Linked DNA regions of Homo sapiens: all the other regions are linked to region 2. Evidence: promoter capture Hi-C in 16 types of primary human blood cells and fetal thymus (Javierre and others, 2016). All regions are on one chromosome and are shown on one strand. The core of a region is centred on a gene start or on the middle of the fragment in contact, and the rest is flanking DNA. Distances in the headings are between cores, read along the strand shown. Region 1 overlaps ZNF274 (zinc finger protein 274). Region 2 holds the start of ZIK1 (zinc finger protein interacting with K protein 1). Region 3 holds the start of ZNF324 (zinc finger protein 324).

Region 1 (3,705 bases), core at 465-2,964, 620 kb before region 2:
TACAGGCGCCCACCGCCAGGCCCAGCTAATTTTTGTATTTTTAGTAGAGACAGGGTTTCGCCATCTTGGCCAGGCTGGTCTCGAACTCCTCACCTCAGGTGATCCGTCCATCTCGGCCTCCCAAAGTGCTGGGATTACAGGTGTGAGCCACCGTGCCCAGCCCAATTACAGCTCTTAAGGCTTGAATTTTTCCTGAGAAGCAGCTGGGGATAAGATTTACTGGAGGCCCAGCAGCACCGGACTAAGTGCCTAGGACATGGGACATGCACCAACTGAATCTGTACTTCCTGGGGGGGGGCTAAGTGGCAGACCAGCACTGGGCCACCAGTACTATTTTAGGTAACCATGCATGACACTTAAACATCTTAAACGTTACTTCATAAATTTCTAAAATTTCATTTTTGTATTCCTTAATCGAGGGATTTTCATGCCTTGGCCCCTAGGAAAACAACTGTTGGATTCTTCTACTCCACCCCACCCCTTTCTAATGTACTTACTTCTGCTTTAATCTTTATTATTAACCCATGAGGCCCCACACTCTGTTCTGTACACAGTTATCATAAAGCACCTTTTGCATGCTGTGGAACCAAGGACACCACAGTGAACAGAGAGACCACAAACCCAGAAACTGGTGAGGAAGTGATGGACTCATTCTGTGCACCTCAGTCCTCCAAATGTCAACCCATAGACTATCCCAAGACCTTTAGGGCAATCCTTACCACTGTCTATTGCAGGAAATTAGCTGCTCCACTTCATGGAGGAGAAAATGGAAGCTCTTAAGTTCACCACCAGGCAGAGGTGGAACTGGATTCTCATTCCACCCATCTCATTCCACAGACATGACTGACCCAACCCACTCATGTGGAGCTGCATAATCCCTATCAGCTGGAGCTCCAAATGGCTTTCAGTCCAGCAACTGAATGAGCCCGTAGCAATGTAGTCACCTCACCTACAACTGTCTGTCTAATGGGTTGTGAAACAAATTCACTGAGGCTCAAAGCAAGGGGTTTAATCAAGAGAGATTAACTTCTTGAGCCTGAGTTTCTTCACCCAAAGTGATGAGATACCAAAGTCCAGGCACAGCATGTGGTAAGGGCTTGATGGGAGCTGCTGCTTTCTCCCTCTTGACACTATTTTCTTCTCTCAGGATACTTCTACCTCTCTGCTGCTTCCCTTCCAGGGTGACAAACAGGCCTTAGGCAGCTGTCTTCCTCACAGTGCTGTTTGCCAGTGAATGCTGATTAGCCAGGTATACCAGTCCAAAATATAACGAAAAGCAATGATCTTTTTAGCAGCTTGTGGGGGAAAAGTCAGAAGAGTACTTACCCTCAGCTCCCCTAATCCCTGGGCACAGTACCCCATCACTTTTCCTCCTTGTCTGGAAAGCTCTCAGCTCTCCTGTTCTCTCTCATCATTCCCTCAGTGCCCCTAAGCTCCCTGTTGGATTACCTTCTGCATCTGTCTCCTCCAGTGTACCACTGAGGCTGCCAACTGGGACTTGTGGATCTCACACCCCTAAGTAGAGGATCTGCCAAAGGCTGCTGATCATCTTTACGTTACTCAGTTTTTGAATCAATGACAGTACCATCATTTCACGAAGGCTGCCCACAGTCCCAGGAAGCAAATGTACACCATACACAAAAGAAATATGCCTGGTGCGGTGACTCATGCCTGTAATCCCAGCACTTTGGGAGGCCGAGGTGGGCAGATCACAAGGTCAGGAGTTTGAGACCAGCCTGGCCAATATGGTGAAACCCCGTCTCTACTAAAAACACAAAAGTTAGCTAGGCGAGGTGGCGGGCACCTGTAGTCCCAGCTACCTGGGAGGCTGAGGCAGGAGAATCACTTGAACCCAGGAGGTGGAGGTTACAGTGAGCTAAGATCACACCACTGCACTCCAGCCTGGGCGACAGTGCAAGACTCCATCTCAGAAAGAAAAAAAAAAAAAAGAAATTCATGCTGGGATAGGCTAGGAACCCTGCCCAGGGTTGCAGAGTGGATGATCCGGTTTGGTTCTGTGTCCCTACCAAATCTCAGGTTGAAAAGTGATGCTGTGTTGGAGGTGGGGCCTGGTGAACCTTCAAGAATGGCTTAGCACCATCCTCCTGGTGGTTAAGTTAATCACACGAGATCTGGTTGTTTAAAAAAGTGTGGCCGGGCAGAATGGCTCACGCCTGTAATCCCAGCACCTTGGGAGGCTGAGGTAGGTGGTTCGCTTGAGCCCAGGAGTTCTAGACCGGCCTGGGCAACATGGCAAAACCCCATCTCCACAAAAAAAAAAAAAAAAAAAAATTAGCCAGGCGTAGCGGCATGTGCCTGTAGTCCTGGCTACTCAGGAAGCTGAGGTGGGAGAATCGCTTGAACTCAGGAAGTCGAGGCTGCAGTGGGTCATGATCGCACCACTGTACTACCGCCTAGGTGAGAGTGAGACCGTGTCTCCAAAAAAAAAAACAAAACAAACAAACAACAGTATGCGGCACCTTCTTCCTCTCTCTGGCTGCTGCTTTTCCCATGATGTGCCTGCTCCCTGCCTTCCACCATGAGTAAAAAGCTCCCTGAGGCCTCCCCAGAAGCCAACCAGATGCCAGTGCCACCCTTGTACAGCCTGCAGAACTGTGAGCCAATTAAATCTCTTATCTTCATAAATAACCCAGTCTCAGGTATTTACAGCAATTTAAGAACGGCCTAACATAGTGGGCAACAAAGGAGCCGGGTTCCAAACCCTGTTATTTCATGTCCTTGACGCTAAAGGGGTCTCCCACAGCCACCATCTTAGTTTTCCTAGAATATGGCCTTTCATCCAGAGATCCACATGTGCACCACCCTCCTGCCTGGTATAGTCTTCCCCAACATCTTCGCCTGGTTCACCTTCCCCAACATCTTCACCTGGTTCGCCTTTCCCATTCAGGTCTGAGCTCAAACGTCACCTCCTCAGAACCATCTTCCTACTTAGTTCTGAACTACTGCTGCCCACCCGTACCTCGCTTGTCCCCCACCAATGTATCCCATTGTTTCCTTCTCTTTCCAACACTCATTACCATCCCAAATATCTGATTCATTAATTTATCATGTCTATCACCCTATCTAGAGCAGTGCTGTCCAATGGAACTTTCTATAAATGAGATGTTCTAGATCTGTACTGTCCAACATAGTAGCATTAGCTGCAGGGCCAATGAGCAGTTGAAAGGTGCCCAGTGCAATTGAGGTACTGAATGGGCAACTTCATTTTTGTTGATCCAATCAGCCATGGAATGGATGTAGGCCCAATGAAAGCAGGTGTAAGACCTGCCCCACTCATCACTGTGATCCAGCCCTGGAACAGTACCTGGAATCCTGGCAAGTGCTCAAGTAATATTTGTTGATTCAACACAGCTTCTTTGCAACATGAAAGCACACATAGTTTGCACCCCACTTGCTTCTTCTCAGCCAAGCCCATGTCAGGGACTTGTATTTCTGGTCCCATGGTAAAATGGCCCCAGCAGCATTTCTCCAGAGGTTGATGGCTAGAATGACTTCAGGACTCAGGAAAAGGACATCAGTACTTCTAGCCTTTTTAAGCCCTCAAAATAAGTTAATACTTCTATTTATCAAGTCTTCCACACTCCAGCACTTACAACTTTCTTCAAATAGGTCCTGCTCATTCTTTAATAATTTATTCTTTGGTATAACTTTTTAAAGGTATTAATGTATTTTGTATATCCATGT
Region 2 (3,265 bases), core at 144-2,643:
TCTACCTTCACAGCCACCACACTGGTGAAGCCACTATCAAAACTCACCTTGGCCACTGCAGTAGCCTCCTCCCTGGTCTTTCTATCGCCTCCATCACACCCACAGAGTATTCTCTATGCTGCATTAACAGTGAACCTGATGAGACCAGTGTCAGATAACCTCCGTTCTCTTCTCTAAACCTCCCATTGTTCTCATCACCTCCAGAAAAAACACCCAATTTCTCAGAGCCATTCCAGGCCTGAGTCCTGCCCTGCTGCTCTGAGTTCCCATGAGAAAGAAAGGAGAGTTGTGTTTCCCTGAATCAGCTCAGCTTCACTGCCAACCTTACACATTATTGTACGTAGGCGGGGCAACCTTTCACACCTCATTCCATTGTCTGCCAGCAATAAGAACGTCTACAAATAACCACCAGTCTAGAATCAGGATGTCAAGCTTCCAGTTTGTGAAGAGTCCTTAGGTCAAAGAACTGGATGGTGGCAAAAAGATCCATGAAAAAACCCCAGGATGGGGCCAGGACCAGTGAGGGCCTGGGACACCCTCCACTCACCTTTGTGAGGTCCATATGTGTTTCTGGAGACACAGTAACCTGTGGAAAGCCAAAGATCATGAAAGGCAGGTGACCATACAGGGCTCTACGGATTCAGGCTTCCCTGGATTCCTGTCCAGGCCAGAGCCAGGTGGACTGAGGATGCCTGCATTATTTCTGAGCCTCAGCGTTCCAGTCCTCAGTGCCAACTCTTAGCAACTGTGGGACCTTGCACAAGAACTCAACCTCCCTGTGCCTCTGTGTTATTCCATTCTATTCTAGTCTAACTCCATGAGGTTTTTGGAAAACTTCGAAAGACCTAACTCAGACCATATGCCGCTTCTGTACACAACCCTCCACGGCTCCTAGCATCCTAAGAATTGAGGGAAAACTCCTCACCTTGGCACTCCAGGTATGAACCTTCTTCACTGTGTCTCCAAGAGTTTAGAAACGCTGGTCCCTTTGCCTGTAACCCTCTTCCGTGCCCCATCACCCAAGTTCTGGAAATAGGGACCCCACCCACGAGCCCCCACTGTACTGGACATGAGGATCTCGACCGTAGTGACCCAAGAAGGCACTAATTTGGGGATGGAGGGTGAGGCCCAGTAGAGGCAGCGCTCACCTGAGTCGGGGCCCTCAGCGCGGCCGCAGCCATCGGAGTCTGTGGGCAGAGCGGGGCCGGGACCCGACAGCTACGGGCGGAGGGACCTAGGCAAAGCCGTCAACCCCGCCGCCGCCGACCCTTAGAACCCCCACTGTTCAGCGGGAGGACCCCTCCCCTCGCGCCTTCCGACTGTCGCCAAACAAAGCGCTCCCAAAGCTCTGACGGTCTGGATGCACCCAAGCGCTGCAAAAATGACCGCCACTGAAGTGATACCGGAAGTCCCTCCCCGACCCATTGGTCCCAAAGCGGAAACGACCCTTTTCTCAGCGCGGATTGGCTCAGCATCCCTGCGGCTGGAGACAAAACCTTCTGGGTTCTGTAGTCCCCGCTGGTCCCCAGGGCTGAGGGAAGGATGCTGCCGCCCAGCGTCACCTCAAACAAAAGCCAAGCGGCCGCGCTGGGGGCGCAGGGAAATGGCGTCGCCACAATGCAGGAGAGGGCTGGGCCTTGTCGCTCCTTAAACAGGCCGCTGGTCGATTTCTGTGGTCCCGTCGCGGCTGAGCGCCCACGTGATTAGAAGCATTGATTCAGGCTCAGGAAGCTGAGGCCAGATCCACACCGACGCGTATTCCATACGTATTCGACGCTCCTGCGGGAGCAAAGGAGCCTCGTGCCCCTCCCTTGCGGGGTCAAGGCGTTCGAGGCCGTGCCGGGGCCAAGGCTATTCTGTGAAAGGAGCGACTTAGGTGTCGCGCTGTGGGCACGTGTCCCGGGAGGCCACGTGGGGGCCGCGCCCCCGGCTGCTCCTGCTCTGACCTGAGCCCTTTGACTGTACCCAGAGGCGGGAGGCGGGGCCGAGACGTCCCATGGGAAGGGGTTCTCCGTAGCTCCACCCCGGGGGACGTCTCCTCCAGGGGGGCCGGGCGAGCTGGGAAGGCCCCAGAGCCGCCGAGGAAAGCGCCTCTGCTTCCCTGAGTCCCCTCCTGGGTCTAGGAGCCGTTCCTGCGTTTTCTGACGCCCTCTCCACCGCCCCTCGGCTGAGAACTGGGTCCAGATGAGCCTTGGACCCCGTTGAAGACGTCTCCTACCTCATCTCCCACACCTGCTGGGACCATCTCCAACCGCCCTCAGGGCAGTAGGGAGGTAGGCGGGTTCCCAGGGCACCCCAAGCGGTGGCGTACAGTGGTAGGAACAAGGCCTCTGGAGCCCAAGAATGGGATTTAGTCCCCGAGGGGAAGTCCATGCTCTGCCTTACAGCGGCTGGTATGGGCTTCTGGGGGCACCCTGAGACTCGGCCTGTAGGGATACTCATAATGGCCTCCATGAAGGTGCAGGTTTAACCACTGGACCAGTCTCATCTGGCCATCCTCTGTTGGTAACATAATGTCCAGTTATTTTGCAGGCACAGAGCTAAAGAGTTGCAAGTTACACAGCTAGAGAATGTGCAGAAAAGAAAATGTCAGGCCCAGCGCGGTGGCTCACACCTGTAATCCAAGCACATTGGGAGGCTGAGGTGGAAGGACCACTTGGGCAACATAGCCAGACCCCGTCTCTACAAAAACTAAAAAATTACCCGAGTATGGTGGTGCACCTGTAATCCTAGCTACTCAGGATGCTGAGGTGGGAGTATCGCTTGAGCCCAGGAGATCACGGTTACAGTGAGTTATGATTATGCCACTGCACTCCAGCCTGGGCAACGGAGCCAGACCCTGTCTCAATAAATAAATAAGTAAATAAATAAATAAATAAAAAGAAAAGAGAAAAGAAAACATTGACCCAACACTCGGAGCTGAAGTCTCACCTACCAGACTCCACCCTGTCACCACAGGAAACCAAAATATCAGGCTATGGCTGGAACCCAAGTGCTGAAACACTTCCGAAAGCAAGGGGTCTGTTGTCTCTGAATGTTGGGTGATAACAACCCCATCCCCGCCTTGCCATCAATAGATTTGTTTGAAGTCCTTCCAATCAAAATCCACCCTTCCAGTGCTTACCAACCTGTCCTTCCTAATCCTTAAAAGCTGCCCCAAACCCCATATTGGGGAGACAGATTTGAGCTGGACTCCTGTCTTCTTGTTTGTCGACTTGCAATAAAGGTTTGCTTTTCTCAAAAACCTGGTGCCATGGCATTGGCT
Region 3 (3,431 bases), core at 149-2,648, 880 kb before region 2:
CACCAGTCGCCACAGGGGAGCAGCCTCAACAACCTGTGAACACAGAGGAACTCAATCCCTTCCTCCTTTCACCCGGTGTCCCCTTTCTTCCCCTCTCTGTTGCCACCCTCCCCTCCTCAGTTAGGTGCTAGGCTCTTCCCAATAGCCCCAGGCATCCCAGCTGGTCTTCTTTACCCTCAAGCCATAACTGCCCACACCTGGCTGAGTCCCTGCCCATTCCTCAGTCCAATTCATAGGCCCTGTCCACAGCCCAGGACGCCAACAACGTCAGGTCCAGTGACATGACCAACCTGGGACATCCCAGACTCTTGATCTTTCCCCTGAAGGAAACCTGCTTTCCTTTCAATTCTCCTTTCTATCTACAGCAGCTCTCTTCTTCCAGGCGCTCAGGCTGAACAACATGGGGTACTTAGTTCTTCAAACAGCCCACACCTGATGCATCCGCAGATCCACCAGAATTCACCTGGTCGCCCACCTCCACTGCTGCCCAGACTGTGGCAGTCGGTTCTTCCCTTCATGCCGACACCCCTGCATGTCTGTTCTCCACGCAACAAACGGTGGAACCGTTTTAAAGTCCTCAGAGGATGTCCTGATTCTGTTCAAAACTTCTATGTCTCCCGACGCCCTCGAGATAAAGCCCACTCCCTCGCCTGATACTGCAGCCGCACACATCCCCTCTACTCCAGCTCCACATCGAGAGAGCTCAGTCCCAGAAGCACCTGGGCTTCGGCTCCCCTCCCAGGTTTTGCACACGCAGGACTCTCCCCTCGGAGCCTCCTTCGGGACCTCAGCCCCCTGGCTGCCCGAACTCGGGAGCTCACCAGTGCCCTGGACGCAGGAGTTTGCACTGACCCCCGCAACCCCCCCAGGGCAGGGAGAGGAAAGACGACTAGGCGAGGTCTAGGAAGCGGCCTCCCTCCGTGAGGGCGCGGTCTGTGTGAGCAGGGACTCCCCTGCTTCCCCGACGCGGGCTTGTCAGCGCCACCGCCGCCAGCGGAACCCGCAGCTGGGAGGGAAGAAAGGCGTGGACCACCCAGCCTTTCCCCGCCAGCAGCGTCCCGGGGCCGCCCCGCGCCTCAGTCTCCCCGGCCATCATGGACGTGGAACGCCCAGCGCGCAGCCTCCTGGGCTGCCGCACGGTGGGAGAGCGCATGGCTCCCGCCGCGGCCCGACAGTCCCCTGGACGCCCACGACGCACTCTGAGAAACAGAGGCTTGGGGGCGCGGCCGGCGGCCGGCGCCCTTGATCACGACGCGTGCGCAGGGCGGGCCCGACGCGGGCCCTCAGCCAGTACCTTCCTCGCCGCCAGCCTCGAGCACCAGGAACCCCCTGGAAACCGGACCCGACCCGCGGTCCCCAGCCCAGACCACCGGTGTGGCCTGACGCGGGCGGCGAAGTGACAGTCCCACCGCCGGAAGTCCAGCCCTTCGGTTCTCATTGGCCCAGTGCGCGCCGCGGACGCTTGCGTACAGCCTTCCGGGTCACGTGGTTCCCGCCTGTTTCCCTGCGTGGAGGCGGGGCCACTACCGGTCTCCTTGGCAACGTCCAAGCCCCTGCCGCGCGGGGCGCTGGGAAATGGAGTCGCGCGGCGGCCTCGGGTTTTCAAGGGCTTGGTGGCGCTGGTGGATTCGCCCGGTGTGTAGTCCTGCCTTCGGCATTCCAGGTGTCCTCCCAAGCAGTCCCGGAGACTAAACCCTGCAGGTGCGAAAGCAGAAACTGCCGAGGTTCCAAGAGGCAACACCAGCAGTGAGCACGGAGGAGAAAATGCACCGGGTAGCGCAGGTGGAGGTGGAGGAGCCGATGCCTGGAGCTCCGGGTTCCCTTCCCAGCTCTGCCTCTCACTGACTGTGCGTCCTGGGCGCGGGTTTGACCTCTCTGTGTCAATGTCCCGTAAAGGTTTAAGGTCCGTTTTCAACCTTTACACCAAGAATTCTCAGCCCGTAAGCCTACATTTGTCTTAAGTATGAGACTGTTCCTCGACACTTGCCCAAAGCATCTGTTTTCCTTGTAATTTGGATGGGCAGAAGTTAATTCCCCAGATTTGCTTGTCCTTAGACCATCTAGATCTTGTCTTGCCCCACACATCACAATATTCATTCTTTTTTCCTTTTTTCTTGGGACTCATTTAAGTTTTTTTTTTTTTTTTTTAACAGGGTCTTTGTTCTGTTGCCCGTGCTGGAGTGCAGTGGCACAATCTCGGCTCACTGCAACCTCTGCCTTCAGGTTCAAGTGATCCCCCCGCCTCAGCCTCCGTAGTAGCTGGGACCACAGGTGTGCGCCACCATGCCTGGCTAATTTTTGTATTTTTTAGTAGAGATGGAGTTTCACCATGTTGGCCAGGCTGGTCTTGAACTCCTGACCTCAGGTGATCCGCCCACCTCGTTCTCCCAAAGTGCTGGGATTACAGGCCAATTTAAGTGTCTTTGACACATAAAAACGAAAGGCAGAGCAGTCTCAATGTAGACTGTCTTGTTTGGCAGATAATAAAAGGTTCTTTGTCTTGTTTTTGGAACCTGTAGACAGTTCTCAGCTGTCCAGTTCCTTAACTCTTTTTGCCTCCCTCCCTCTATACCTACCTCCATCTATAACTATCTCTCTGTCAACTGTCAGCTATAACTGTCCACCTAATTGATTCTACTTGTAAATCCTTGTAGAGCAAGGGAGCTCATCATGTTTGGAATGTTTTAATATAAATTTTGCTACTTTGAAAGAATTTAAGAACATTTCAGGACTGGGCGCAGTGGCTCACACCTGGAATCTGAGCACTTTGGGTGGCCAAGGTGAGCGATCACTGGAGCCTAGGAGTTTGAGACCAGCCTGAGCAACAAAATGTGACCCCATCTTTATAAAAAAATATAAAAATTAGCTGAGCATGGTCTTGCATGCCTGTAATACCAGCTACATGGGAGGCTGAGGTGGGAGGATTGAGTTCAGGAGTTGGAGTGTGCAGTGAGCTATGATGGAGCCCCTGCACTCCAGCCTGGGTAAGAGAGAGACCCTGTCTCAGGAAAAAACAAACAAAAACCCTGAGGGGGAAAAAAAAAACCCCAACACTTAGAAGTATTAAAGTTCAGGGCCGGGCGCGGTGGCTCACGCCTGTAATCCCAGCACTTTGGGAGGCCGAGGCGGGTGGATCATGAGGTCAGGAGATCGAGACCATCCTGGCTAACAAGGTGAAACCCCATCTCTACTAAAAATACAAAAAATTAGCCGGGCGCGGTGGCGGGCGCCTGTAGTCCCAGCTACTGGGGAGGCTGAGGCGGGAGAATGGCGTGAACCCGGGAAGCGGAGCTTGCAGTGAGCCGAGATTGCGCCACTGCAGTCCGCAGTCCGGCCTGGGCGACAGAGCGAGACTCCGTTTCAAAAAAAAAAAAAAAAAAAAAAGGAAGTATTAAAGTTCAAAAACCCTGAAGAAAAAAAACCCCAACACT

The links. Contacts are between HindIII fragments. The CHiCAGO score rates a contact against its expected background, and 5 or more counts as called.
Region 1: a fragment that was not itself captured here is called in contact with the fragment with the promoter of ZIK1 in region 2 in 1 of 17 cell types (non-activated CD4 T cells); the score reaches 5.3 in non-activated CD4 T cells.
Region 3: the fragment with the promoter of ZNF324 here is called in contact with the fragment with the promoter of ZIK1 in region 2 in 4 of 17 cell types (total CD4 T cells, total CD8 T cells, total B cells and 1 more); the score reaches 8.0 in total CD4 T cells.

The regions. Positions count from the first base shown.
Region 1 is chr19:58,199,759-58,203,463 of GRCh38, reverse strand. The region is part of intron 4 of ZNF274 (zinc finger protein 274); the gene reads right to left. Among named protein-coding and RNA genes, the nearest start is that of ZNF274, 19 kb to the right of the region's middle. The HindIII fragment of the contact is 4,047 bases long and covers 1-3,705 here.
Region 2 is chr19:57,582,273-57,585,537 of GRCh38, reverse strand. It overlaps ZIK1 (zinc finger protein interacting with K protein 1), which reads right to left and starts at 1,393. Exons shown (of 4, transcript NM_001010879.4): 1 at 1,149-1,393; 2 at 548-586. The coding sequence starts at 1,181. RefSeq lists enhancers at 1,557-1,656, 1,353-1,884. The HindIII fragment of the contact is 4,281 bases long and covers 435-3,265 here.
Region 3 is chr19:58,465,047-58,468,477 of GRCh38, reverse strand. It overlaps ZNF324 (zinc finger protein 324), which reads right to left and starts at 1,398. Exons shown (of 4, transcript NM_014347.3): 1 at 1,295-1,398. RefSeq lists enhancers at 1-17, 436-1,050, 1,051-1,667 and silencers at 1,149-1,278, 1,359-1,408. The HindIII fragment of the contact is 6,014 bases long and covers 1-3,431 here.